Regions from separate parts of the Homo sapiens genome. Here region 2 is linked to region 1. Evidence: promoter capture Hi-C in 16 types of primary human blood cells and fetal thymus (Javierre and others, 2016). All regions are on one chromosome and are shown on one strand. The core of a region is centred on a gene start or on the middle of the fragment in contact, and the rest is flanking DNA. Distances in the headings are between cores, read along the strand shown.

What was found. The method cuts DNA at HindIII sites, captures the fragments that hold promoters and counts their contacts. A CHiCAGO score of 5 or more calls a contact.
Region 2: a contact is called between a fragment that was not itself captured here and the fragment with the promoter of CA5A in region 1, in 2 of 17 cell types (total B cells and naive B cells). The highest score is 7.0, in total B cells.

What each region holds. Positions count from the first base shown.
Region 1 is chr16:87,934,570-87,939,205 of GRCh38, forward strand. CA5A (carbonic anhydrase 5A) reads right to left here and starts at 1,960. Exons shown (of 7, transcript NM_001739.2): 1 at 1,740-1,960. The coding sequence starts at 1,881. The HindIII fragment of the contact is 28,449 bases long and covers 1-4,636 here.
Region 2 is chr16:88,052,761-88,057,396 of GRCh38, forward strand. The region is part of intron 11 of BANP (BTG3 associated nuclear protein); the gene reads left to right. Among named protein-coding and RNA genes, the nearest start is that of BANP, 100 kb to the left of the region's middle. The HindIII fragment of the contact is 167 bases long and covers 2,249-2,415 here.

The sequences.
Region 1 (4,636 bases), core at 710-3,209:
AAAAATAAAGGAAAGTCACAGAGGGGCAACAGCCATAGAGCAGTGGGGCCAAGATTCCAATCTAGGCAGGCTAGCGCTCTTGACGGTCGTACTAAGAATAAAAAAGGGGGGTGGGTGCAGTGGCTCACGCCTGTAATCCCAGCACTTTAGGAGGCCGAGGCAGGTAGACCACCTGAGGTCGGGAGTTTGAGACCAGCCTGGCCAACATGGCGAAATCCTATCTCTACTAAAAATACAGAAATTAGTTGGGCGTGGTGGCACACGCCTGTAGTCCCAGCTACTTGGGAGGCTGAGTCAAGAGGATCGCTTGAACCCAGGAGGCAGAGGCTGCAGTGAGCCGAGATCGCACCACTGCACTCCAGTCCACAGGTGTGGACCCCAACAGGAGGAATGAGTGTAGCTCACTCAGAGTCTGGGGTGGGCCAGGCTTTCTACACGCATCGTGTCATCCTTCCATGGCCCTGGAGAGAAAGTCTGGCCACCCCCATCTCGAGATAAGGACACAGAGGCTTGGGGGTGAAGACCTGCCGAGGCTCCACCTCAGCAAGCGTCAGTCGGACTGCATGCCTGGGGTCTGGCTCCTAAGCCCATGCTCTTTCAATGGCCCAAACATGGAATGCATGGAAGATTTCAGTTAGAAGAGAACTTGGCAGCTGCCAAAGCAGGCTCTCATTCTACGGAGGAAGCACCTGAGACCCAGAAAGAGGAAGGGCCTCGTTCAAGGTCACAAGGCACTGACCATGAAGCCAGGAGGGGCTGGCACGGGGCAGTTTCTTGGCAGAGCTGGCTGAGTGGTTTATTTGTTACAGGTTTGCTTGAAAGCGTTCTCTGCCGAAGAGTTTAGGAGCGATCGTGACTGGTTAGTGCAGCCCATTCCGCCGGGTCTGGATGGTGAGTCGTGCCAGTGTGTCCCGTGCGAACACGGACTACCCGCCTGCTCCCAGCATCTTGCCCTCCCCAGGACCCCTGAAACGGAGGCTAAATGATTCACCCAAGGTCACCAAATACAAGAGAAACGGAGTGTGGCCAGGCGCGGTGGCTCACGCCTGTAATCCTAGCACTTTGGGAGGCCAAGGTGGGTGGATCACCTGAGGTCAGGAGTTCGAGACCAGCCTGGCCAACATGGTGAAACCCCATCTCTACCAAAATACAAAAAATTAGCTGGGTGCAGTGGCGGGTGCCTGTAGTCCCAGTTACTTTGGAGGCTGAGGCAGGAGAATCACTTGAACCTGGAGGGCAGAGGTTGCAGTGAGCCGAGATCATGCCATTGCACTCTAGCCTGGGCAAAAGAGCAAAACTTCATCAAAAAAAGAAAAAAGAGGGCCGGGCGCCGTGGCTGATGCCTGCAATCCCAGCACTTTGGGAGGCTGAGACAGGCGGATCGCGAGGTTAGGAGTTCGAGACCAACCTGGCTAACACAGTGAAACCCTGTCTCTACTAAAAATACGAAAAATTAGCCAGGAGTGGTGGCATGCACCTATAGTCCCAGCTACTCAGGAAGCTGAGGCAGGAGAATCGCTTGAACCCGGGAAGTGGAGGTTGTGGTGAGCTGAGATCACGCCACTGTACTCCAGCCTGGGCCACAGAGCGAGACGCCATCTTAAAAAAAAAAAAAAAAAAACGGAGTGGAAATCTGAACCCATCTGGCTCGGGACGGTCTCTCCTCTCTCCTCTCGAAAGACCCCATCAGCTAAGACAAGGATCCAGTCGCATCTTAGGAAATTTGAGGCTCTACTTACAAGTGTTATTGCTGGTTTGCCATGCACAGGAACGCTGAGAACACCATCGCCCTGGCCTCATCGAACGACTCCAGAGAGGGGCCCACATCTGCTCAACCAAGAAGGAGAAAGCTGAGGTCTTCCAAGTGTTCCTCCCCAACATCTTGGGTCTGTTCCCACTGACTCCAGTCTGAAGAGGGTGATGTTCCCTGCTGTCTGTTCTCACTTTGATCAGGACCACTGTGGACTGGCGTGTACCCACCTCTTTTTGTAGAAACTCATCCCAACCCCTGAGCCTAATGGTTAAAGTTCAACCCATGCCTTTCCCAACAGGGTGGGTCCACAGGGATTAGTGGCCTCTGCTGGGGACAGGCCACTCAGGTCACTGGGCTTTGATCTGGCAAACAGGAGCACAAGTCTGCCAGGGAGCTAGAAAAACTGTACGGTGGGGCTGCGTGAGCACCAGGGGATTACGCGGGAGGCGGGGGCGAGTGGATGAGAGCAGAGTCCCTGTTTCTTTCATGGGGTTGACCGTGTGGTTTGGGGCTCCGGGACACTCAATACCAGGCACAAAGCCATGGTGTGCATGTGAGGAGGGACTGGCAGGCAGGCTCAGAAGTACAGGAATGGGACTGGCCAAAGCGCTGCTGGGTAGACAGGCCAGGGGAGCAGGGAGCTTCTGTCCACCCACCAGGGCTCCTGAAGTCATGGAGTCCTTGCTTGCCTTAAAATAGGTGCGATTTGATTCATTCATCCTCCCCGGAAGCAAGATGCCCTGTGGCTTCGGACACTTCCAGGTCATGCCTGCTGTCTTGGCATAAACATTAACAGGGCCACCTTTCTTTCTTTCCTTTTCTTTTTTTTTTTAGACAGAGTTTCACTTCTGTTGCCCAGGCTAGAGTGCAATGGCGTGATCTCGGCTCACTGCTACCTCTGCCTCCCAGGTTCAAGCAATTCTCCTGCCTCAGCCTCCTGAGTAGCTGGGATTACAGGCGCCCACCACCATGCCCAGCTAATTTTTTGTATTTTTAGTAGAGATGGGGTTTCACCACGTTGGCCAGGCTGGTGTTGAACTCCTGACCTCAGGTGATCTGCCTGCCTCGGCCTCCCAAAGTGCTGGGATTACAAGTGTGAGCCACTACGCCCAGCCTCTTTTCTTCGTTTCTTTTCTTTTCTTTCTTTCTTTTTTTGAGATGGAGTCTCGCTCTGTTGCCCAGGCTGGAGTGCAATGGCGTGATCCTGCCTCACTGCAACCTTTGCCTCCCAGGTTTAAGCAATTCTCCTGTCTCAGCCTCCTGAGTAGCTGGGATTATAGGCACACACCACCACAACGGCCAATTTTTTGTATTTTTAGTAGAGACGGGGTTTCACTGTGTTCCCCAAGCTGGTCTCGAACTCCTGAGCTCAGGCAATCCACCCACCTCGGCCTCCTAAAGTGCTAGGATTACAGGCATGAGCCACTGCGTCCAGCCTCTTTTCTTTTCTTTCTTTCTTTCTTTCTTTCTTTCTTTCTTTTTTTTTTTTTTTTTGAGGTGAGGTCTTGCTCTGTCACCCAAGGTGGAGTGCGGTGGTGCCATCATGGCTCACTGCAGTCTCAATCACCCAGGCTCAAGTGATCCTCCCTCCTCAGCCTCCCAAGTAGCTGGGACTATAGGTGCATGCCATTATGTCCAGCTAATTTTAAAAATTATTTGTAGAGGCAGGTTCTCGCCATGTTGCCCAGGCTGGTCTTGAACTCCTGGGCTCAAGCAATCCTCCCAGAGTGGCCTCCCAAAGTGCTCGGATTACAGGCATGAGCCACTGCCCCTGGCCTGGTACCTCCCTTCATGCCCAGGGTCCACATGGGTATGTTAGCTGGTCACTCTAGCCAGGCAGCTGGTGATATTTGCAGACGCCAACCCACAAAGAACCTTCCTTTGGGTCCTTTGAGCGGCACAGCAGTTTATTCACCCAGACACCTTTTACCTGTGAAATGGAACCCATGGGATTGGGATGCACCAGTTTGTGACTTCTTGTTGTTGTTTAAACTTACAATCTTTTAGGGGGCAGGGCTATCATAACTTTTCATAGAATCCTGGAATCTTAGATCTAGAAAACCCTACAGAACACAGGTGTTGAAATGCGAGTCCACTTGTAGGCTCCTGAAAGCCCAAGAATCCCACTGAAATCCCCCACACAATGGATAGGGTCTGCGGCTTTCGGCCACTGCTCTGGTGGGCCCAAGAGTTTGCTTGCATTTGTTTTGAGCAACAAAAACCAAGTCTGGATGATATGTTCTCTCCTTCCCACACAGTCATGGTGGAAATGCACCCACTCTTGGGAAGTCTGATTCATTGTCATTCATTCATTGACCCACTCACTCATTCATTGACTCACTCACTCACTCATTGACTCACTCACTCATTCACTCACTCACTCATTCATTCACTCACTCATTCATTCTCTCACTCAGTCAATCATTCATTCACTCATTCATTCATTCATTCACTCACTCATTCACTCACTTATTCATTCACTCACTCATTCACTCATTCACTCATTCATTCACTCATTCACTCATTCATTCATTCACTCATTAATTCATTGGCTTTTGCCTCCATTTCCTCATCTGTAAAGTAGGGAAGATTCTAGGATTCCATCATACACGATAACACTCTGTCGAGCTGTTGTTGACACAAGTGATGTCCTTAGAGCGGCACTTTCATTGCTGCAGGCCAAGCTCCCACCCCAGGCATTGCCAGCCCCATGTGAGCAGGGGCATCTCCTGAGTACACTCACCTGGGCAGCCGATGATGCCCCACAGGCTCCTGGGGCATGTCCTCTGCCATCCTCAGCCGTCCTGCCCTCTTCAGCCTGCCCAGTTTAGGTTGACTGCGTTGCAGCAGTACCCGTGGGCTGGGGGTCTCCCTGTCTTCCTC
Region 2 (4,636 bases), core at 1,082-3,581, 120 kb after region 1:
TACCATCTCCATCATCATCACTAACATAACCACCTTAACAACCACTACCACTACCGCCTTCACCACTGTCATCTCCATCATTATCACCAACACAACCACCCTAACAATCACTACCACCACCACCTTCTTCACTATCATCTCCATCATCATCACCAACACAACCACCTTAACCACTACCATCACCACCTTCACCACTATCATCTCCATCATCATACCACCACAACCACTTCTACCACTACCATCTCCATCATTATCACCAACAGTCACCCTAACAAACACTACCATCACCATCACCCCTGTCATCTCCATCATTATCACCAACCCAACCACCCTAACAACCACTACCACCCCCACCTCCACCACTGTCATCTCCATCATCATCATCACCAACACAACCATAACCACCTTAACAAACACTACCACCACCACCTCCACCACTATCATCTCCATCATTATCATCACCAACACAACCACCCTAACAACCACTACCACCCCCACCTCCTTCACTATCATCACCGTCACCAACACAGTCCCCTTCACCACCACCACCACCTCTACCACTGTCATCTCCATCATCATCACCAACACAACCACCCTAACAGCCACTCCCACTCCCACCTCCTTCACTATCATCACCATCACCAACACAACCACCTTTACCACCACCACCACCTCTACCACTGTCATCTCCATCATCATCATCACCAACACAACCACCTTCACCACCACCTCTACTGTCATCTCCATCATCATCACCAGCACAACCACAACCACCTTAACAAACACTACCACCACCACCTCCACCATCATCTCCATCATCATCATCATCACCAACACAACCACCCTAACGACTACCACCCCCACCTCCTTCACTATCATCACCATCACCAACACAGTCACCTTCACCACCACCACCACCACCTCTACCACTGTCATCTCCATCATCATCATCACCAACACAACCACCTTCACCACCACCTCTACTGTCATCTCCATCATCATCACCAACACAGCCACCCTAACAACCACTACCACCACCACCTCTACTATCTCCATCATCACCAACACAACCACCTTAACAACCACTACCACCCCCACCTCCTTCACTATCATCACCATCACCAACACAGTCCCCTTCACCACCACCACCACCTCTACCACTGTCATCTCCATCATCATCACCAACACAACCACCCTAACAGCCACTCCCACCTCCTTCACTATCATCACCATCACCAACACAACCACCTTTACCACCACCACCACCTCTACCACTGTCATCTCCATCATCATCATCACCAACACAACCACCTTCACCACCACCTCTACTGTCATCTCCATCATCATCACCAGCACAACCACAACCACCTTAACAAACACTACCACCACCACCTCCACCATCATCTCCATCATCATCATCATCACCAACACAACCACCCTAACGACTACCACCCCCACCTCCTTCACTATCATCACCATCACCAACACAGTCACCTTCACCACCACCACCACCTCTACCACTGTCATCTCCATCATCATCACCAACACAACCACCTTCACCACTGTCATCTCCATCATCACCACCAACACAGCCACCCTAACAACCACTACCACCACCACCTCTACTATCTCCATCATCACCAACACAACCACCTTAACAAACACTACCACCACCACCTCCACCACTATTATGTCCCTCATCCTCACCACCACTACCAACAACACATCTATCACAGCATGACCTCTACCACCATTGTCCCTGTCACCCTCTCCGTTGCCCTTACCTCCGCCACCCCCACCACTCCCAGTGCTATCACAGCCATCAACAGCACCAGCACCAGCACCAGCACCGTCAAGGGGTCAAGTGAATTTCCTGATTATCCTGAGTTGTTTTCTAATCTATCTACTTATTGGCCTCTCACCCTCTTCCTGTCGAGACTGAAATGACAGTGCTTCCTTTGCCTAGCTCATAGGAATATTTATGGAGGGTCAGTGGGCATGGCTTCTGTCCTTACTATGTAGGCCTTGAGTAGTAGCTTAGGTGTGATAGAAATGGAAGGTCCTCAGTGTTGCTTCAGGATAAAGCCTTCACAGTGTTGAATTTGGATTCTGCAGATTGAATCTAATGTGCAGTATGGTTTGAACAGTTAGTACCAAACTCTGTTCCTAGGGGGTATTATATCTATTGAGATGTTCAAATCTGGGTCAGTTCTTTCACTATATTTGGAAGATTTTCAGTCACATGGGAAGCTTTTCAAGGCTTGATTATTAATCATGCTGCTTAGATCATGAATCATGAAATTATTTAGTACTGTTTCTAGTACGTGTGTATTTTAATACTTTTTTTTTGCCCTTTTTTGCCCTTTTTTTTTTTAAACAGATGTAGCTAATGTTACCTAAGATGTGCACGAACAAAGCTTATATATGTTTATAGGCTAAACAATGTGAAATCACTGGAAAAGCTAGGAGGTATTTTGTGTATGTTCTGGTAAACCCATCTGTAATCCATACACCCACCCACCCCCTCCGCACACACACCCCTGAATGATTGAATATGTGTACGTACACATGACGCGTGTACATTTAGTAAAGTTAAGCAAAGCAGTGACGGATCCAGGGCGTTCCCACTGTGCACCTGTGCAATGACTTGACCAGGGTTCAGCTGACGGCAGGCTTGGTGACCTTGAAGCTTTTCAGCTTCTCTCCCATCTTTGGCATTTGTATTCCTCCTGATACTTCGCTTAAGAGTAAGTTTCAGAAGGCTTCAGAATCTTTTTCCATGAAATAAGGCCTTCTAGACCCAGCTGGGAAAAAGATTAGAAGACATGGGAAATGTCCAACATTTTACGTGTAGGATTTTTTTGGAGAGAGCGAGGAGAAGGAGTGTGTGTGTGCAGGGTGTCTTTATCTATAGCTGAAAAATGGCCTCTTGTATTTCCAGGAGGCTTTAGGCCACTCTAAATGGTTTGTCACAGAAGGAGGATCATCTCGCCTTCCTAGACACACACCCTATGTCACTTGTAATAAAAATGCTCCCATCAAGAAAATATATTCCTGCATTACATGCCAAAACACAAGCAGAAATCTTGGAGACTCTCAGTGGTTTAGGGAATTAATCTCTTATGGAGAAGCCTTCTCTACCAGAAATGGTGGAAAATGTAATTTAAATCATAAAAGGTCTGAAGTGGAGTGAGTTTGGTGTTGACTAGTCCCAAGAAACCCCCTGGGAAAGGTGTGGAGCTGCCCGCATGCCTCCTGCTGCCTTGCTGGGGGGCTCAGGCCCACCTGGACAGCTGGCTCTTCAGCTTCCTTGCCCTGTCTGGGGAGGTGGGGCCCTGACTTACAAAGGGAGGCCGTGGTGTCTCCTGCCTGTGGCTCTGACACTGGAGGGGTCCTTGTGGCCCCTAACAGGCTTGCCGCATGCAGCAGAGTGTTCTGAGAGTGTGGAGTGGCTGTGGAACTCCAAGGACTCTCTGCTTCTTTGCTTCTTGGTCTGTTTTGGCAAGCAGCAAGGAAGGTAGTTTCAGGCTTGAGTGATGACTAGTCAGTAAAATAGGTGTACTAATTTGAGGACTATCATTTTTGTCCCATTGAATTTCTTGGGACACTGTCTGTGGTTGCAGCGTAGAAGAATCTTTAAGTCAGGCAAGGGCCCAGGACAAGCTGGACAAAGTGTTTGGCTGGGAAGCGTATTCTCTCTCTTTTTTTTTTTTTTTAGAGAGAGAACTTAGATGAAATGATGACTGAAATGTACACTTTCAGTGTTTTACTCAGTTGAAACAATGGTGCCTTCGAAGGGCTCGCTGTTAGCTGAAGCTGAAATGTCTTTATCACAACCCCTGAGATGCTCCCACTGCTCTGGTCACGCTTCACGCTGGCCCCTGCACTCCTGGCCCTTTTGTTTAGCCCCGCATCAGACTCTGTGATGTCAGACAGTGGTGGCAGGCCTGATGATTCGAAGATTGTTTTTGATCAATTTTACCATTTTCAAATATATATTTAAAAGGTTATTCATTTCTTTTACCTGTCATACCCAGTGTAGTATACTTAGCAACACTGAGTGATCATTGAGTGAATGAATACAATGGCAACTGTTGCCAAGTTAGCAGTTAGTTATATGATGCACACATTGAAGACATTTGGAAATACTCTTGTTTGAGCCATTTAAAACTACGGCTTACGTTCACCAGATCTTTAATCATGAAAACATATAGAACAGTACTGATTTAAAACTCTGTAACTCAAAAAGCAGAAAAAGTGTGATTTCTGAATAACTTTACAAATCCTTTTGGTGGGATCCAAATGTGAGAACTTTTTCTGAATAAGGGAGTTTTGGTGATTCTTTGGGTGTTCTGAGACTTTTCTGTTGCCGTTGTTGAGCTGTGTCTGCCTTTTCTGGTGGGCGGGCCTGCCGTGTTGTGGTGGGGAGCGACTTCACACAGCTGGCACGGGATGCTTCGAAGTGGGGTACGGGCCAGCCGCCAAGAGCTCACCCAGCGCGCCTGTTGCTTTGGGTGCCTCTGTGGGGAGCAGCTAATGGATGTGTAGACTCTTTTGCCCCAAGAATTATCTTCTGGAAGGCTACCAGAGTAGCTGCCTGCGAAAGGAAACCTGGGCGTTACTGCTGCACCAGGAT